Linked DNA regions of Homo sapiens: region 1 is linked to region 2. The links are contacts of gene promoters, found by promoter capture Hi-C in blood cells and fetal thymus (Javierre and others, 2016). All regions are on one chromosome and are shown on one strand. The core of a region is centred on a gene start or on the middle of the fragment in contact, and the rest is flanking DNA. Distances in the headings are between cores, read along the strand shown. Region 1 has its middle 58 kb from the start of LINC01912. Region 2 holds the start of DSEL (dermatan sulfate epimerase like).

Region 1 (6,188 bases), core at 2,973-5,472, 690 kb after region 2:
ATGATGAATATGTTAATTGCCCTGATCTGATCACTGTACACAATATCACAATATCACTATACTCCATAACTCTGTATAATAATTATGTGTCAGTTAAAAATATAAGTTAAAAAAACTAGAGCTTATGAACAGGAAATAAATAAGACTACTGCAATTTTTTAATTCATTTTTGAAGAGTTAATACATTGTTCAACTTTGAGACATAAAATATTATATCTGTTACCACATTTTATAAAAATGTGCCTTCTGAATAAAATTTTGCTTTGACTTAAAAACACTAGATTTACATATCTCCCTTACTACACAAAAGGGCTGCCATAAAGAACCACACCATCTAGATGGAAACTCGGAGTTTCTTCCTCTCTTTGTTGCCCTTAAATAGAAATTGCTTCATCTTTCTTCCTTCTGTGCTTTTCAGTGCCACAGTCAGTTCTGTTACAAGTCAACAGAGCAGTGAAGATGCTGGTCTATTGTTTAGAAAAAATATAATCCTCAAACAGTTATTTATCTTCATTTTATTTCTTGTTTTGGAAAGCAGCAAAAACTTCAACATGGTTGTATACTTTGTACTTAGATCATGGCCAGAAAGTTAGGAGACAAGCTGAGAATATTTTATTGTCTGCACAAAGATAGAGATCATATTGAATAATGAAGAGGTAAGTCAAATCTGAAGAACGACTTAAAATTGTAAGGAACTTGATGTTAGTAACACTACTTACTTTGCAATTATCCAGGATAATTTTAGCAGATGGGAATGATTCCCCACTCCCTGACTAAAGAACAAGACCATAGGTATTCTTGTATTGTAAAAGTGACCAGTCGTTGAGTGTAGTTTGTAATAGTATTTTTAAATGCTTATTACATTTTAAATGATTAAATGGATATGCTGGTGTTCCGTTCCTTTTAAAAATTTTTTAATCCATGCAATCTGACTTTGAGAGCCATCTGCTATATATCCCCTTTCAATAAACCAAATATTAAGTTGAAGAAAATCTTTTTCTGGTAAGATCCAGATTTAACAGAGCAGGTAAACTAGGAATAAAAAAGACAAAATCTTCAAATGGTAGAGGGTGAGAAGGTCAGAGGAAGAAGATCTCAAAAGTAGTGCATCAGCAAAATAAAATATCTAAATGTAAGCAGTGCCTTGGAAAGTAGGAACTGTGGTTCTCTTGGAAACAAAGGGCTTGGACAAGTCTCCTTGAAGCTGGCTGAGGGCTGACAGAAAAAGAACAGACTGCTCAGAAAGACCAAATTTAGAGTCTTTTATAACAAGAGGACAGAGCACTTGAGCCATGAACACTGAAACAGGAGGCTCTCTCATTTTCCTTTCTGCCCAGGTAAAGGCACCTAGTAGTGCATGAGAAGAGATAAACAATTGTCATATAACCCTCCTATAGCTGATAAAAACATACAAGAAGAATGTGAAACCAAACAGATGAAATGTTTAACTAATTTTACCAAAAAGCTAAGAGAAATGAAAAATAACACAAATAACAAACAAAAACAAAAGCTCTCAGAGTTGAGAAAATCAGACAAGAAGAATTTGTTTAAAGGAAAACTGATATACTCAGAGAAAAATTATAAAATGAGAAATTTCAATATATCATAAGTGGAAACTAAAAAGCATATAAAGGACTATAAATCATGCTGCTATAAAGACACATGCACATGTATGTTTATTGCGGCATTATTCACAATAGCAAAGACTTGGAACCAACCCAAATGTCCAACAATGATAGACTGGATTAAGAAAATGTGGCACATATACACCATGGAATACTATGCAGCCATAAAAAATGATGAGTTCATGTCCTTTGTAGGGACATGGATGAAATTGGAAACCATCATTCTCAGTAAACTGTCGCAAGAACAAAAAACCAAACACCGCATATTCTCACTCATAGGTGGGAATTGAACAATGAGATCATATGGACACAGGAAGGGGAACATCACGCTCTGTGGACTGTTGTGGGGTGGGGGGAGGGGGGAGGGATAGCATTGGGAGATATACCTTATGCTAGATGATGAGTTAGTGGGTGCAGCACACCAGCATGGCACATGTATACGTATGTAACTAACCTGCACAATGTGCACATGTACCCTAAAACTTAAAGTATAATAAAAAAAATTAAAAAAATAAAAAATAAAAAGCATATAAAGACCAAACTTATAACACAAAAAGTGCGGTGATTAAAAGAGAATAGAAAAGTAGAGGAAATAAACATGAGCAAAAAATAAACGAAAAGCCTTCAGGGTGAAAATCGATGTAGAAGCTGGCCAAAGAAGGTTGTATTAGGACCGGCTACATGATCTGTGGGGCCCAATACGAAATGAAAATATGCGACCCTTGTTCACAAAGTAGGAAAAAATTACCGTTAAAGGTAATATAACATGAAGGTTTTATGATTTCTCTTGAGGTCTCTTTCTCAACCAGTGATGGTGTTTTTTATTTGCTACTTAATGTCATGCTCCCCTGGTCATGGGGGTTCTGGTGAGGTCAGTGCAGACTCTCACAGTGCCTGGCCTCTCTCACAGTGCCATCAGGCACCTTGTCGATAGTGGTTCATTGGGTGAGATCCCCCGCTTTGCAGCCGCTGAACCAATAAGCTTCCTAGATAGGTAGGGAAAATCCAACTTGGCATCACTTTTTCCCATAACCAGTCCTTCTAACTGGCAGCAGAGGGGTTAATGCAAGAGTATGCTACCTCCTTGCCAGACTCACTGGGTAACTTGGAAGGGTTGGCAAGAGGCTTACCCAGCCAGTCGCCTGTCCAATGCCCCATGGTGTTTCTGCTCCTGCCACACTCTGAGATCCAGAGATGCATGTGTCTGATGCTGACTTTCCCTGATCCTGCTCTGTCTGATCAGTCCCCTGCCAAATGCAGGGACCGCAGCAGTCACTGGTGTGTGGGGAGAGATGGCTGGGCTGTGCAGGGGGAACAGAAGGATGGAGAATCTGATGGCCAAGAACCCATCCCAGGGAGTCAACTGAGGCCTCAAGAGCCCTACACATTCTCCATTGTCTGGTCTGACTTCACTTATTCAATACATAGTAAAATATAGAATCATTAAGACATCAAGGACAGCCAAATGCCAAGCATGAAGTCCTTCTAAGCATGGGTTTCTGCACAATTGCATTCATTGGACACCCACGAAGCTGGTTCTAAATGGGATATTAGTAAGTGGAGTCCCCAAAACAGAAAAGCAGAGAAATAGGACACAATATGCACTTAAGAGAATAATTATCTAAAACTTTGCTGAAAATAATTGAGCCTACATACAAGAAGGCAGAATGTGTAAATGAGAAATCAGCCCATGATATTCAACAGTAAGACACGGACTCAGTAAATCTTCCCAAGTTTCTCCTAAGAGTAAGAAAATCAGATTGTCATCAGATTTCTGACAGCAACATTTTATGCCAGAAAGCAAGAAAATAATATTTACAAAATAGTCAAAGAAAGAGAAATGTAAGTCAAGGATTTTAGATTCAGCTAGGCTATCCTTCAATAATAAAGGGCACAATAAAATCAGTTATAAATATGCAAAATTTAAAGGAATATTTGTGACTGGCTACAATTCTATGATTTAGAATAAATGAAATAAATATTTCATGACCAGCCAATATGCTAGGCCACACAGGAATTTTTAAATTAACCCTGTCATCTTGTCAATGTTTGCTTTACTTATTTTGAGGCTATGCTATTAAGTATATAAAAGTTTAGAACTCTATCATCTTTGCACATTTAATATTTTATCATTTATTACTTTACCAATTTGCTAAATTGTATCAATTGTTAAAATATAAACATTGAAGTAAACATTTTTTAGAGTACTATGGAGCTCTGAGACTTTACGCTATGTCACAATTTTAGATGGACTGTGGTGTTACAGTGAGAATCTTCTTAATAACAGATTCCCACTCATTGGTGGAAACAAAAAAATAAAACGATTGAACTCATAGAGAAATATTTTTAAATGCTCTCTACTGCAAAAATTTTATATTTTATCATATTTCCATTAAACTTCTGAAGTACAGCACATAAGAAAAACATAATGCAAGTTAAACAATGGGTCTAAATCATAAGCAAAAGTCTCATAAATTATATTTATATCATTAAATTAAGGGACTTCGTTCTACACTAATTCTCCAAATGTATGTATACTCTCTCTGTGTATAGGTTTAAAATATTCAAGCATACCGTAAATAGATTCACACTTTTTAACATGTATTTGTTTTAGGAAAAATAATTCTGATTACTGTACAGGCTTCAAATACATGACTGGATTTTTAAAAAGAGTTTAAATCAAATAAATTACTCACTAATCATACTTCTAATGATTTCCTCATGGAGTGACATTTATAGAAAATGTCAAAACTATTAATTTGCCAAAAGAAAAATTAGTAATGCTTCTTAACTCGCTATACATTCATTATAAATCAAGCTGTTTTATGTTAATAAGAAAGGCCATCTACATTATATTTTAGACATGCAAGTAATTCCATAAGGCAATATGAGATTGGTTCTAGTGAGTAAAAATAATGAAAACAAAGGATCAACTTCATAATGTAACTATTTAACATTATACATTGCAATCTCCATCTTTAATTATAGCCTGAAAATTATTTTGAAATTCACACTTCTTTCAATTTAAAATAAAACATTTTAATAATCTACTATGTTTAAACTTTTCATTTTAAATAAGGGGGACTATTATATAACACAAAATGTTAAAGTTATTCTGTTTTCATGTTCAGTGAAGTATTGCATTTTTATATTTTCCTTAGTATATTTGGAAAAACAAGAAGTTCAGATGTATTAGGAAAATTAAGATATGTTATTACACAATTTTTATTTTTTTTAGTAAAAACTATGTCTTGATGGCTGTATTAGTCCATTTTGTGTTGCTATAAAGGAATATGTAAGGCAGGATTTATTTTGATCATAGTTCTTCGGGCTGTAAAAGAAGCATGGAACCAGCATTTGCTTCTGATGATGGCCCCAGGCTGCTTCCACTCATGGCAGAAGGTGAAGGGAAGCCAGCAGGTGTAGAGATCACATGGCCAGAGAGGGATCAAGGAAGATGGGAGGGGAGCAGTGGCAAGCTCTTTTTAAACAACTAACTCTTGAGAACTAATAGAGTGAAAACTCACTCACCCCCACCCAGGAGGGTATTAATCTCTTCGTGAGAGATTTGTTCCCATCACTCAACCATTAGGCCCCACCTCCAACACTGGGGATCAAATTCCAATATGAGGTTTGGGAAGACAAATATCCAGACTGTAGGAATGGCTATATATATTTTTTAAGCTAAATTGCTACAAAGAAACATACTTTTTAGTAATATGATACAACTTAGAATGTTCCAGTTAATTAAATATAAGTAGATGTAAAAAGTTTATTGCTTCAATATAATTAATCTTTCCTGAGGTGTTCCAGCCATCAAAATAAGTAGTAAAGCAGTATAGTAGGTAGAGATTTTGTTAATGGAATAAGAAACTAATTCATAAACAATATCATCTGTTTTATTTTAACATAATTATTCCCATCAAATTGAAACCATAACTTTTTCTCCTGATGGAAATTAAATGTTATAGGAAGTGATGTGGACATTACCATCACCCAATATCTGAATCTTTTCCTATGCATGGTCAGCAAACTTATTTGGCTCACTCATTCTTCCAATTATAAAAATAAACACCAAATACTCTTTTTCTTCATAACCCTCAACATCTAGCCCACACCAAATGAGGGGTCAGTGATGTGAAGAAGAAGGAAAGTTGTGAGAAATTCATTTTGGCTAGAGTGCTACAAGCACCACATTTCATGAATAGCAGGCAAGCTTAATGGAGTGGGACTGGTCTGGCTGTGATAGAATCAGGAAATGGCTTTAGATTTTCAAAATACTCTTATGTCTTCTTTTGATAAGAGTCTGTTCATGTCCTTTGCCCATTTTTTACTGGGATTACTTTTTTTTCTTGTTGACTTGTTCGAGTTACTAATTGATTCTAGACATTAGTCCTTTGTGAGATACATATTTGCAAATGTTTTCTCCCATTCTGGAGGTTGTTAACTTTTTTACTGTTTGCTTTGTGATGCAAAAGCTCTTCAGTTTTAGTCCCATCTGTCTATTTTTGTTTTGGTTGTATTTGATTTTGAGGTCTTAGTCATAAATTATTTGCCTAGGTC
Region 2 (7,029 bases), core at 2,487-4,986:
GTGATTATTTCCCCAGCTGCATCACCAACCTCCTCGCCAGTCCACTTAAGCCACTGCGCACATTCTCCCAGTTGACCTTCCCAGGGCTTATTACACTGGCTTGAGGGTGATGGAGCAAACACCAATACATTGTTAAGGTGGCTCAACTTGGGTCCATAGAGAGCTTCAGAAACAAATACTTGTCCATTGGGGGCAAAAGTAAATGAGTTCTGATCTGGATGCTCATGTCCTGGGTTAAAACTTCTCCACCCATCAATCCAGGAATATGGCTGAAAATGAACTATGTCATACACAGCTCGTCCCCCCAGCTTCCCAGATTTAAAAGACACAAAGGTGTTGGTCTGTGTGTTTGGCAACCCAGCCCCATAAGTAACCACACCCCAGTTAGGGAATGTGTGTATTTTTGCAGTACCATAATCAGCAGGTGGCTGTGGTGTGAGCTGGGGATCATACCAGATGTATTCAGTGTGAAGAGTACTCCACCTTTGGGCAGTTGAAGGAACCATCGGTCCATCTTTAGGTCGGTGCTTTCTAATTTGCTGAGCTAACCAATTTCCAGCTCCATTCTTTAAGATGAACTTATCCAAGAAAACTAGCTGGCTTTCTGGACCATAAAACCAATTATAATTGGAATCTGCTATACCCACAGTTCTTTGGAAGCCAGGTAAAAGGGTGGCATAATAGAACCAAAAGTGCATCTTTAACCAGTTATTATCCAAGTTGTTGATATTAAAATGGCGCTGGGCCAGAAAAACATACTGTGTGACGGATTTAGCTGTGTAGCTTCCATAGGCCACACCTTCATCCAAAGAACCATCAACAATATGATTCAATAGAAACATTGTCTTTTCCATGACATCCACTACAGCCTGTTTCCATATATTTGCTTTAGATCCTTTATCTACTCCAGTCACCAAGGCCCCTGTGAGTAATGCTATCATATTAGTGGCTTGGTGGTTATGGAGAAGCTGTTTGCCCCATGAGCGGACCTTGGAATACTCGTACATTTCCTCAGTAATAACCCATATTTTTTCCAGGTATTTTTGTCTTCGATGATTATCTAATAAGTTATATAAAAAGTCAAAGGCAGTGGCAAAACCTGTTAAGGAATGGCCAATTGGAACCTCATCTCCTGGTGCATTCTCTACTAGCCAGTCTTTGTAGCCAACCATCCTGTCCATATATTCCAAGACAAATTCAAAGGCAACTTTGTCTTCTGGGCATAACAAACAGTACAATGCTAAAGGAGGCAGATTGTTACCATAAATTTCATTCCACTTGGCAGCAAAATCAGCATGCTTTGGTGGAGGTAGGTAGTATGTTGGGTTGGACAGCATAACTGTCACTGCACTTCTGATAGCTCTAAAAAGATGCAAATGGCTTGCACGAGACTTTTGTCTCATTGCTTGGATTTCTCCAGCATCAAAATATAAACTTGGATGAAGCATACTTTTCTTCAGCTTTTGGTTGGGTCTGAAATCTTGCACTTTCTGTGTTTTAAACTGATCTATATCATCTGTGAAAACTGCCCATTCGGAATAATTGCTCACAGATTCCTCAAAAGTAGAGAAAGCAAACATCAATAATGCTAAGAATAGTAAATGTCCTGTAAACATTAACGCCATGATCCATGGGGGAGCTCCTCCCTTAGGCATACATGTCAGATATGATGCTCAATGTGTTTCCCATCTGGTTAGTATAAAACATACAGTAAAGGCCTTGATAAGACAAAGACTGTAAATCTGATATGCTGTGAAATCCAGCTGACATTCAGTACATTTTAAGCAAGTGCAGTTGCCAAAAAGAGAAAACTTAAATTGTATATCTCTGTCCCTGGCACAGTTTTGCTTCCAGTAAAACTTTGAATAACGTTAAAATCTCTAATTTTTCCATAATACACAGGGAAGTGATACAGGTAAAAAACACTATGAATTTAGCATTTACCTCCTTTACTTAAATCTATTTAACACAAAGAGTTGGAACACACATTGTAAAAAAAGAGAAAAAGCACTCCAAAATTCAAATTAAGAGTCATTTCTAGCACAGAAAACCATCACTGGTGATAAGCTCACCACACATGTATGATGCATTTGTGTATGTTTGCCCAAAGAAGATGATGAAGTACTGACATTCTTCGAGTGAGTGGACTCAGTTGTCATTCCTCTCAACTTTTTATACTTCTTGTCTTGTGAATACGTTTTTCTTTCATTTATGAGAGAGAAACATCCTCAACAAGTGATCAAAGTCTTAGTTGGTTTTTAAAAATTCAAAATTCTTGCCTTCATTTCAAATATTTTTCAGGCTTACTTACTCATCAGCCTATTATGACAAAGAGAAATCATGTTCACATCTTCTTTTATCAGCTTCATGTGTACAAACATAAAAATGGAATATCTTCAGTCACCTAGATACTTCTCGTCCGATCATGAAGTAACCGCCAACGGGGAAAGAAAATTCCCCTTTCAGCAACAGTGAGGTCTCTCTTCTGCTCTTTTTTCATGACACTTTTCTGGGGATGGGGGACAAAATAAAAATTCTCTGAGGCTTCAGGTATGCTGAGAATGAATATAAACTGATGACTTAAACATTCTGCAATCACTTAATAGAAATTTTAGAATCACAGTAAAATCTCATATTATCTGCAACCTAAGCTAGGGCAAGTGATTTTTTTCTTATCCATTTACACGCACTTATTTGGAAACCAGTGACCGTCAGCAGAAGACAAGCAACTAACAATACAAAATATACAAGATAGAACTCTCCCGACAATATCTATAGTTTAACGCCACTAACGTGGCTTCAGTCACTTAAAAAATGTTTGTATTCAAATGCAGTTTACACAAAGATGAGTCCTGCTATCCTTGTTATTTCTTGTTCCCAAGGACCGAGGGACAAAAAACTGAAAGTTGAAAAGATCTTTTTTTTTTTTTTTTTTTTTAATTCCGGGGGAAGGTTTAGAGTTCATGGGATCAGAAGGTATCTTCCTAATGAGAACTACTCGGACCAGTCACTTTTCTCGGCGGGGTAACCGCGAATCGTGACCAGGCGCCAAGCCGAGGGGCGGGAGCTCCGCGCTCGGCGCTCACCTGTGGCCGAGTCCCTGTCCTCAGGTGGAGCCGCCAGAGGGAGCTCGGACCCCGGTGTCGAAAGACGCCTCTCCGTGCCCGTCCGCGGCTGGAAGAACCTAAGCAAGTTTCAGTCTTGGACAAGTCTCCCCTCTGTAGGAAACATTCAGGCTAGGAGTTTCCTGATCCGCCCCGCCTGTTGCATTTTTTCACTGGCGTCCTCCGACCCTGCCGCCCCCATTCTCCGCTCCCCGCTCTGGGGCTGAGTGAGGCAGGATGGCGAGAGACCCCTGAGCCACCAAGTCCGCTTACCTCAGGCAGATCCCGACGGGGGCTCGGCGCCGCACTGGGCCCCAAGGGAGACGGAGGTGGAGAGTTCCAGAAAACTGCTCTGCACGGCGGGCCAGGCTCCCGCGGGGCTCCGCAAGACCCCCGCGTCGTCTCCCGCGCTACGGCAGGCGCTGCCCCAGCTCGGTCTCCTCAGCCGCGCTCGGTCCCCGCGACCCGCACGGCCCGGACACGCCCGCCCTCAGGAAACGCCGGACGCTTGTGGGGGCAACCACGGACCGCAGGACAGAGACCCGCGGGCGGCGGGTTCTCTCGGTGGCGCCGTATCCAGAGCAGCGCCCGCGTGCCCAGGCGGTGATGTCGCCGCGGCCGAGGATCCTCTGTGCCAGCTCCGGCCGCGCAGCCCGGGGAGGGTGAGACGGCGACGCGGGCCGGCAAGCGGGGGCGGGGCGGAGGCAGGACGGGGCGGGGTTGAAGGCGGGGCTGAAGGCGGGGCCTCAGGGAAGGCGAGAGACAGCGACGCTGGCTGGCGGGCGTGGGGCGGGACGGAGACAGGACAGGGCGGGGTCAGAGGCGGGGCTTCGGGGAGGACGGGAGGAGCCGTGAGCAGGCCGGCGGCGGGCGGGGCGGGGCCGAAAGCAGGTGAGGCGGGGCCAAGCGCCCCGGGTTTCTAAGCGGAGGAAGCTCTAGGCGTTTGTGTTCTGGGCTTGCAGCGGTGGCCGCGCGCTCCCGGAGGAGTCGAGCTGGAGGAGGGGACAGTTTGGGAGTGCGAGAGTCTAAAGACGCTGCCAGGCTGGCGTTAAAACCTTTTGGTTATGGGAAGACGACAACTATATAATAGAGCCATAGTGGGGGCTGTGGGATTGACTCAAATGATGGGAGGAGCTGGAGTGGGAGGGGATAAGCCCTGGGACGACAGAAATCATCCTTTTGGAAAGAGCAAGGGCTGGGGAAGGAGGGAATGAGCACTCCCTTGGAACTGAGAGGCAGCCTGGCTGAGCTTGCTGTCCTTTGGAAAAGCAAAACCGAAATACCCAGATTAATATAGGAGGACAACTTCTGTAGCCCAGATGCTAACAAAGATCAAGGGAAAACAGAAAAGACTAATCAGCTTTACTGATGGAAAACAATTTCTCAGGCAGTATAAATAGGGGAAGCATGGGACAAACAAGTAGAAGGAGCCTCTTATTTAAAAATGGGACCTGGTATTCGGTAAAGACCTACATGCAGACAGGAGAAGGCAGTGTGCCCCGGCTACTACGACATGTGAGTGCAGTGCCAGGTCGTGGAAATCCTAGAGCAGGCTGGGACTCCTGTTGCACTCCACACATGGAGCTTCTCACAGATAGCTGAGATGACACTTTGGCATAAACCAACCCAAGCTCTGACCTCAAATGTAAAAAATAATAGCTTAGTAGTAATAAAAATACAGGGAAATATCAAGCTTCACAAATGAACAATTCCATTCTCAGTTGGGGATTAGTAACACATTCAGTCTCTTCATTTCCCATACTATTTTGGTAATATTTAATAAGATATATTTTAACATTTTAAAAATAAATGTCTTGCTTAGATCATTTGCTGCTGAAAATCAAACAGTAGACGACTGCTAGCAGAATAAATTTCAAATCATTTAACTTTGAGGTGAAATGTGGCCTCTAACTCCTCATCACTCTTCTGTTTTGGCCCCGTAGTAACCCCTAGCCCAGTCCAAATAGCCACACTTGCTTTTGCTTGGGTGCTTCAGTAACTATGCTTATTCCATTCTTTCCCTCACAGTGTCCTTTACCCAACCACCCCACTTACTAGTTAAAATTCTTCTGACTGTTGAAATTATCTGATCATCCAGGTCTCAACTCAGATGCTTACATTCTTCTGTAAATAACTCCTAAGTTTCCCTAGCCAGAATGTATTACTCCAGAACTATATCATTTGTACCTATATTCGGCCGTTTAGGTTGTTTATTTTCTGCTTTCTATTTCAACTGGTTGACTCCTGTACCCTATTCAAAACTCCTTCAAGTCATGAGTAGCACTCAAGTCCCCTTTGTAAGTACTATATCTGCTTTTGAAATGAGTTGAACCTCGAACAATTGGGCTGATACAGAGCCTCGTCTCCTCCACTGAGGTTTATTCCCAAACAAGGATCCTCTTCTGACACAACTTCCTGTAAAATCTGGATTGTGCCTCTACATGGCCCCTGATAGAGGAAGAGGACCCATGGCCTCCAACCACATTTATGAGAGAGTAGAGTTGGGGGAAACGGGGAGCTGACTCCAGAGATTCCTATCTGTTTGCAGAGGGGAGCCTAGAATTTAGGGTTAGTAAACACAGCTACTAGATGTACAGAACATTTCTCAGAACAAAGTGTGGGGCAGGGTTATTTCTATGGATTCAAAGTGTCTCATGATGCGAGGGCAAGGTGAGTCAGAGAGAATTAATGCGCGAACATCTGCCAGGCAAATATTCTTCCAATGTTGTTTTCAGATTTTGAAATATCAGTATGATCATTTTCACTTTAGAGAAGAATGAATTCAGGTACCGACATTGTGGCCTTTCAGCTCTGCCCCATGCATCTGTGCTGAAGCAGTGGGGATGCAGCTAGCCTCCCAGCATTCTCAGATGGGCTTTCAGACTAATTCATTTTGAACAGACATCTTTGCATAGTGGTAAAATGTGAATGCATTAAAATAAAACAAGAGCCACAACTGAACAATTCAAATCATTGGCAGAAAGGGTGGTAGGTAAATGGCACTGTCAAAAATGAAGAGAGTCTTGTTTTCTGTGAACTAAAAATGGATAGCTCCAATTATTGCTCCTTCCACACATGAAGATGGTACAAAGTTAGTTAATTATAAATAATGCATCCGACCATAGAAGGGATGAGCTATATGCTATGTTATTGTACATTAAAAACCTTTATGAGTGTGGCAAGAGACACATGTACCAACAGCTGCTAAATTCAGAATCCTGGAGCAGTATCTTATTTTAATGTAAGTGAAGAACAGTGCAGTCTATTGCTCTGGGGATTTCTCTCTATATAAAAGGATCTTAAATCTACATGAGATTTTACTCCGTGATTTCAAAGTACTTATGAAAATCTGTTTTCTTTATTTGCCTATCTTTCAACCTACCCACAACCACCTATCTTACAACAGAAACAATGCTTTCTAGAGTAGATTCTCCAGAACAGAAGCCTTTCTCGCGCTCCTTTCCTTCCTTTCTTCCTTCCTCTCTCTCTCTTTTATTTTTCTTTTAAAATTTTATTTCTCAACATCTATCCCAGAGCCTGGCACTTTTTGAAAAATGTTTGGTGAATGTTTAACATGAATTATCGCCCCCATTTTATGACAGAAGAGAAAAAGTCATAAAGGTCTAAAGTGGGTTACTACATTCTAAGCAGAGTCACACACTCTTTCTCCTGACTGTGCTGAGAAGCCTCTTACCACACAACCCATAATTGGAGCTATGCCTTGAGGTGACTTAATTCAAGTGAAACATGAGACTGGAAAGTCATACAACATTTTCAAGAGGATTTCTGCATTAATTGTATATGTTAAGATAGGCAAATTCAAGCTCTGAGCCTGAGAACGATAAAGTACAAGCCATAAAACAAGCCTAGACACTACATAAAGTCCCTGATCTAAAATCACATTTGTCCATGATCTGTTATTCTG

What was found. The method cuts DNA at HindIII sites, captures the fragments that hold promoters and counts their contacts. A CHiCAGO score of 5 or more calls a contact.
Region 1: a contact is called between a fragment that was not itself captured here and the fragment with the promoter of DSEL in region 2, in 1 of 17 cell types (fetal thymus). The highest score is 5.1, in fetal thymus.

What each region holds. Positions count from the first base shown.
Region 1 is chr18:68,203,389-68,209,576 of GRCh38, forward strand. No RefSeq gene overlaps it. Among named protein-coding and RNA genes, the nearest start is that of LINC01912, 58 kb to the right of the region's middle. The HindIII fragment of the contact is 3,234 bases long and covers 2,606-5,839 here.
Region 2 is chr18:67,512,984-67,520,012 of GRCh38, forward strand. It overlaps DSEL (dermatan sulfate epimerase like), which reads right to left and starts at 3,737. Exons shown (of 2, transcript NM_032160.3): 1 at 3,378-3,737; 2 at 1-2,509. The coding sequence starts at 1,625. DSEL-AS1 (DSEL antisense RNA 1) reads left to right here and starts at 3,563. Exons shown (of 5, transcript NR_033921.1): 1 at 3,563-3,766. The HindIII fragment of the contact is 6,208 bases long and covers 1-4,795 here.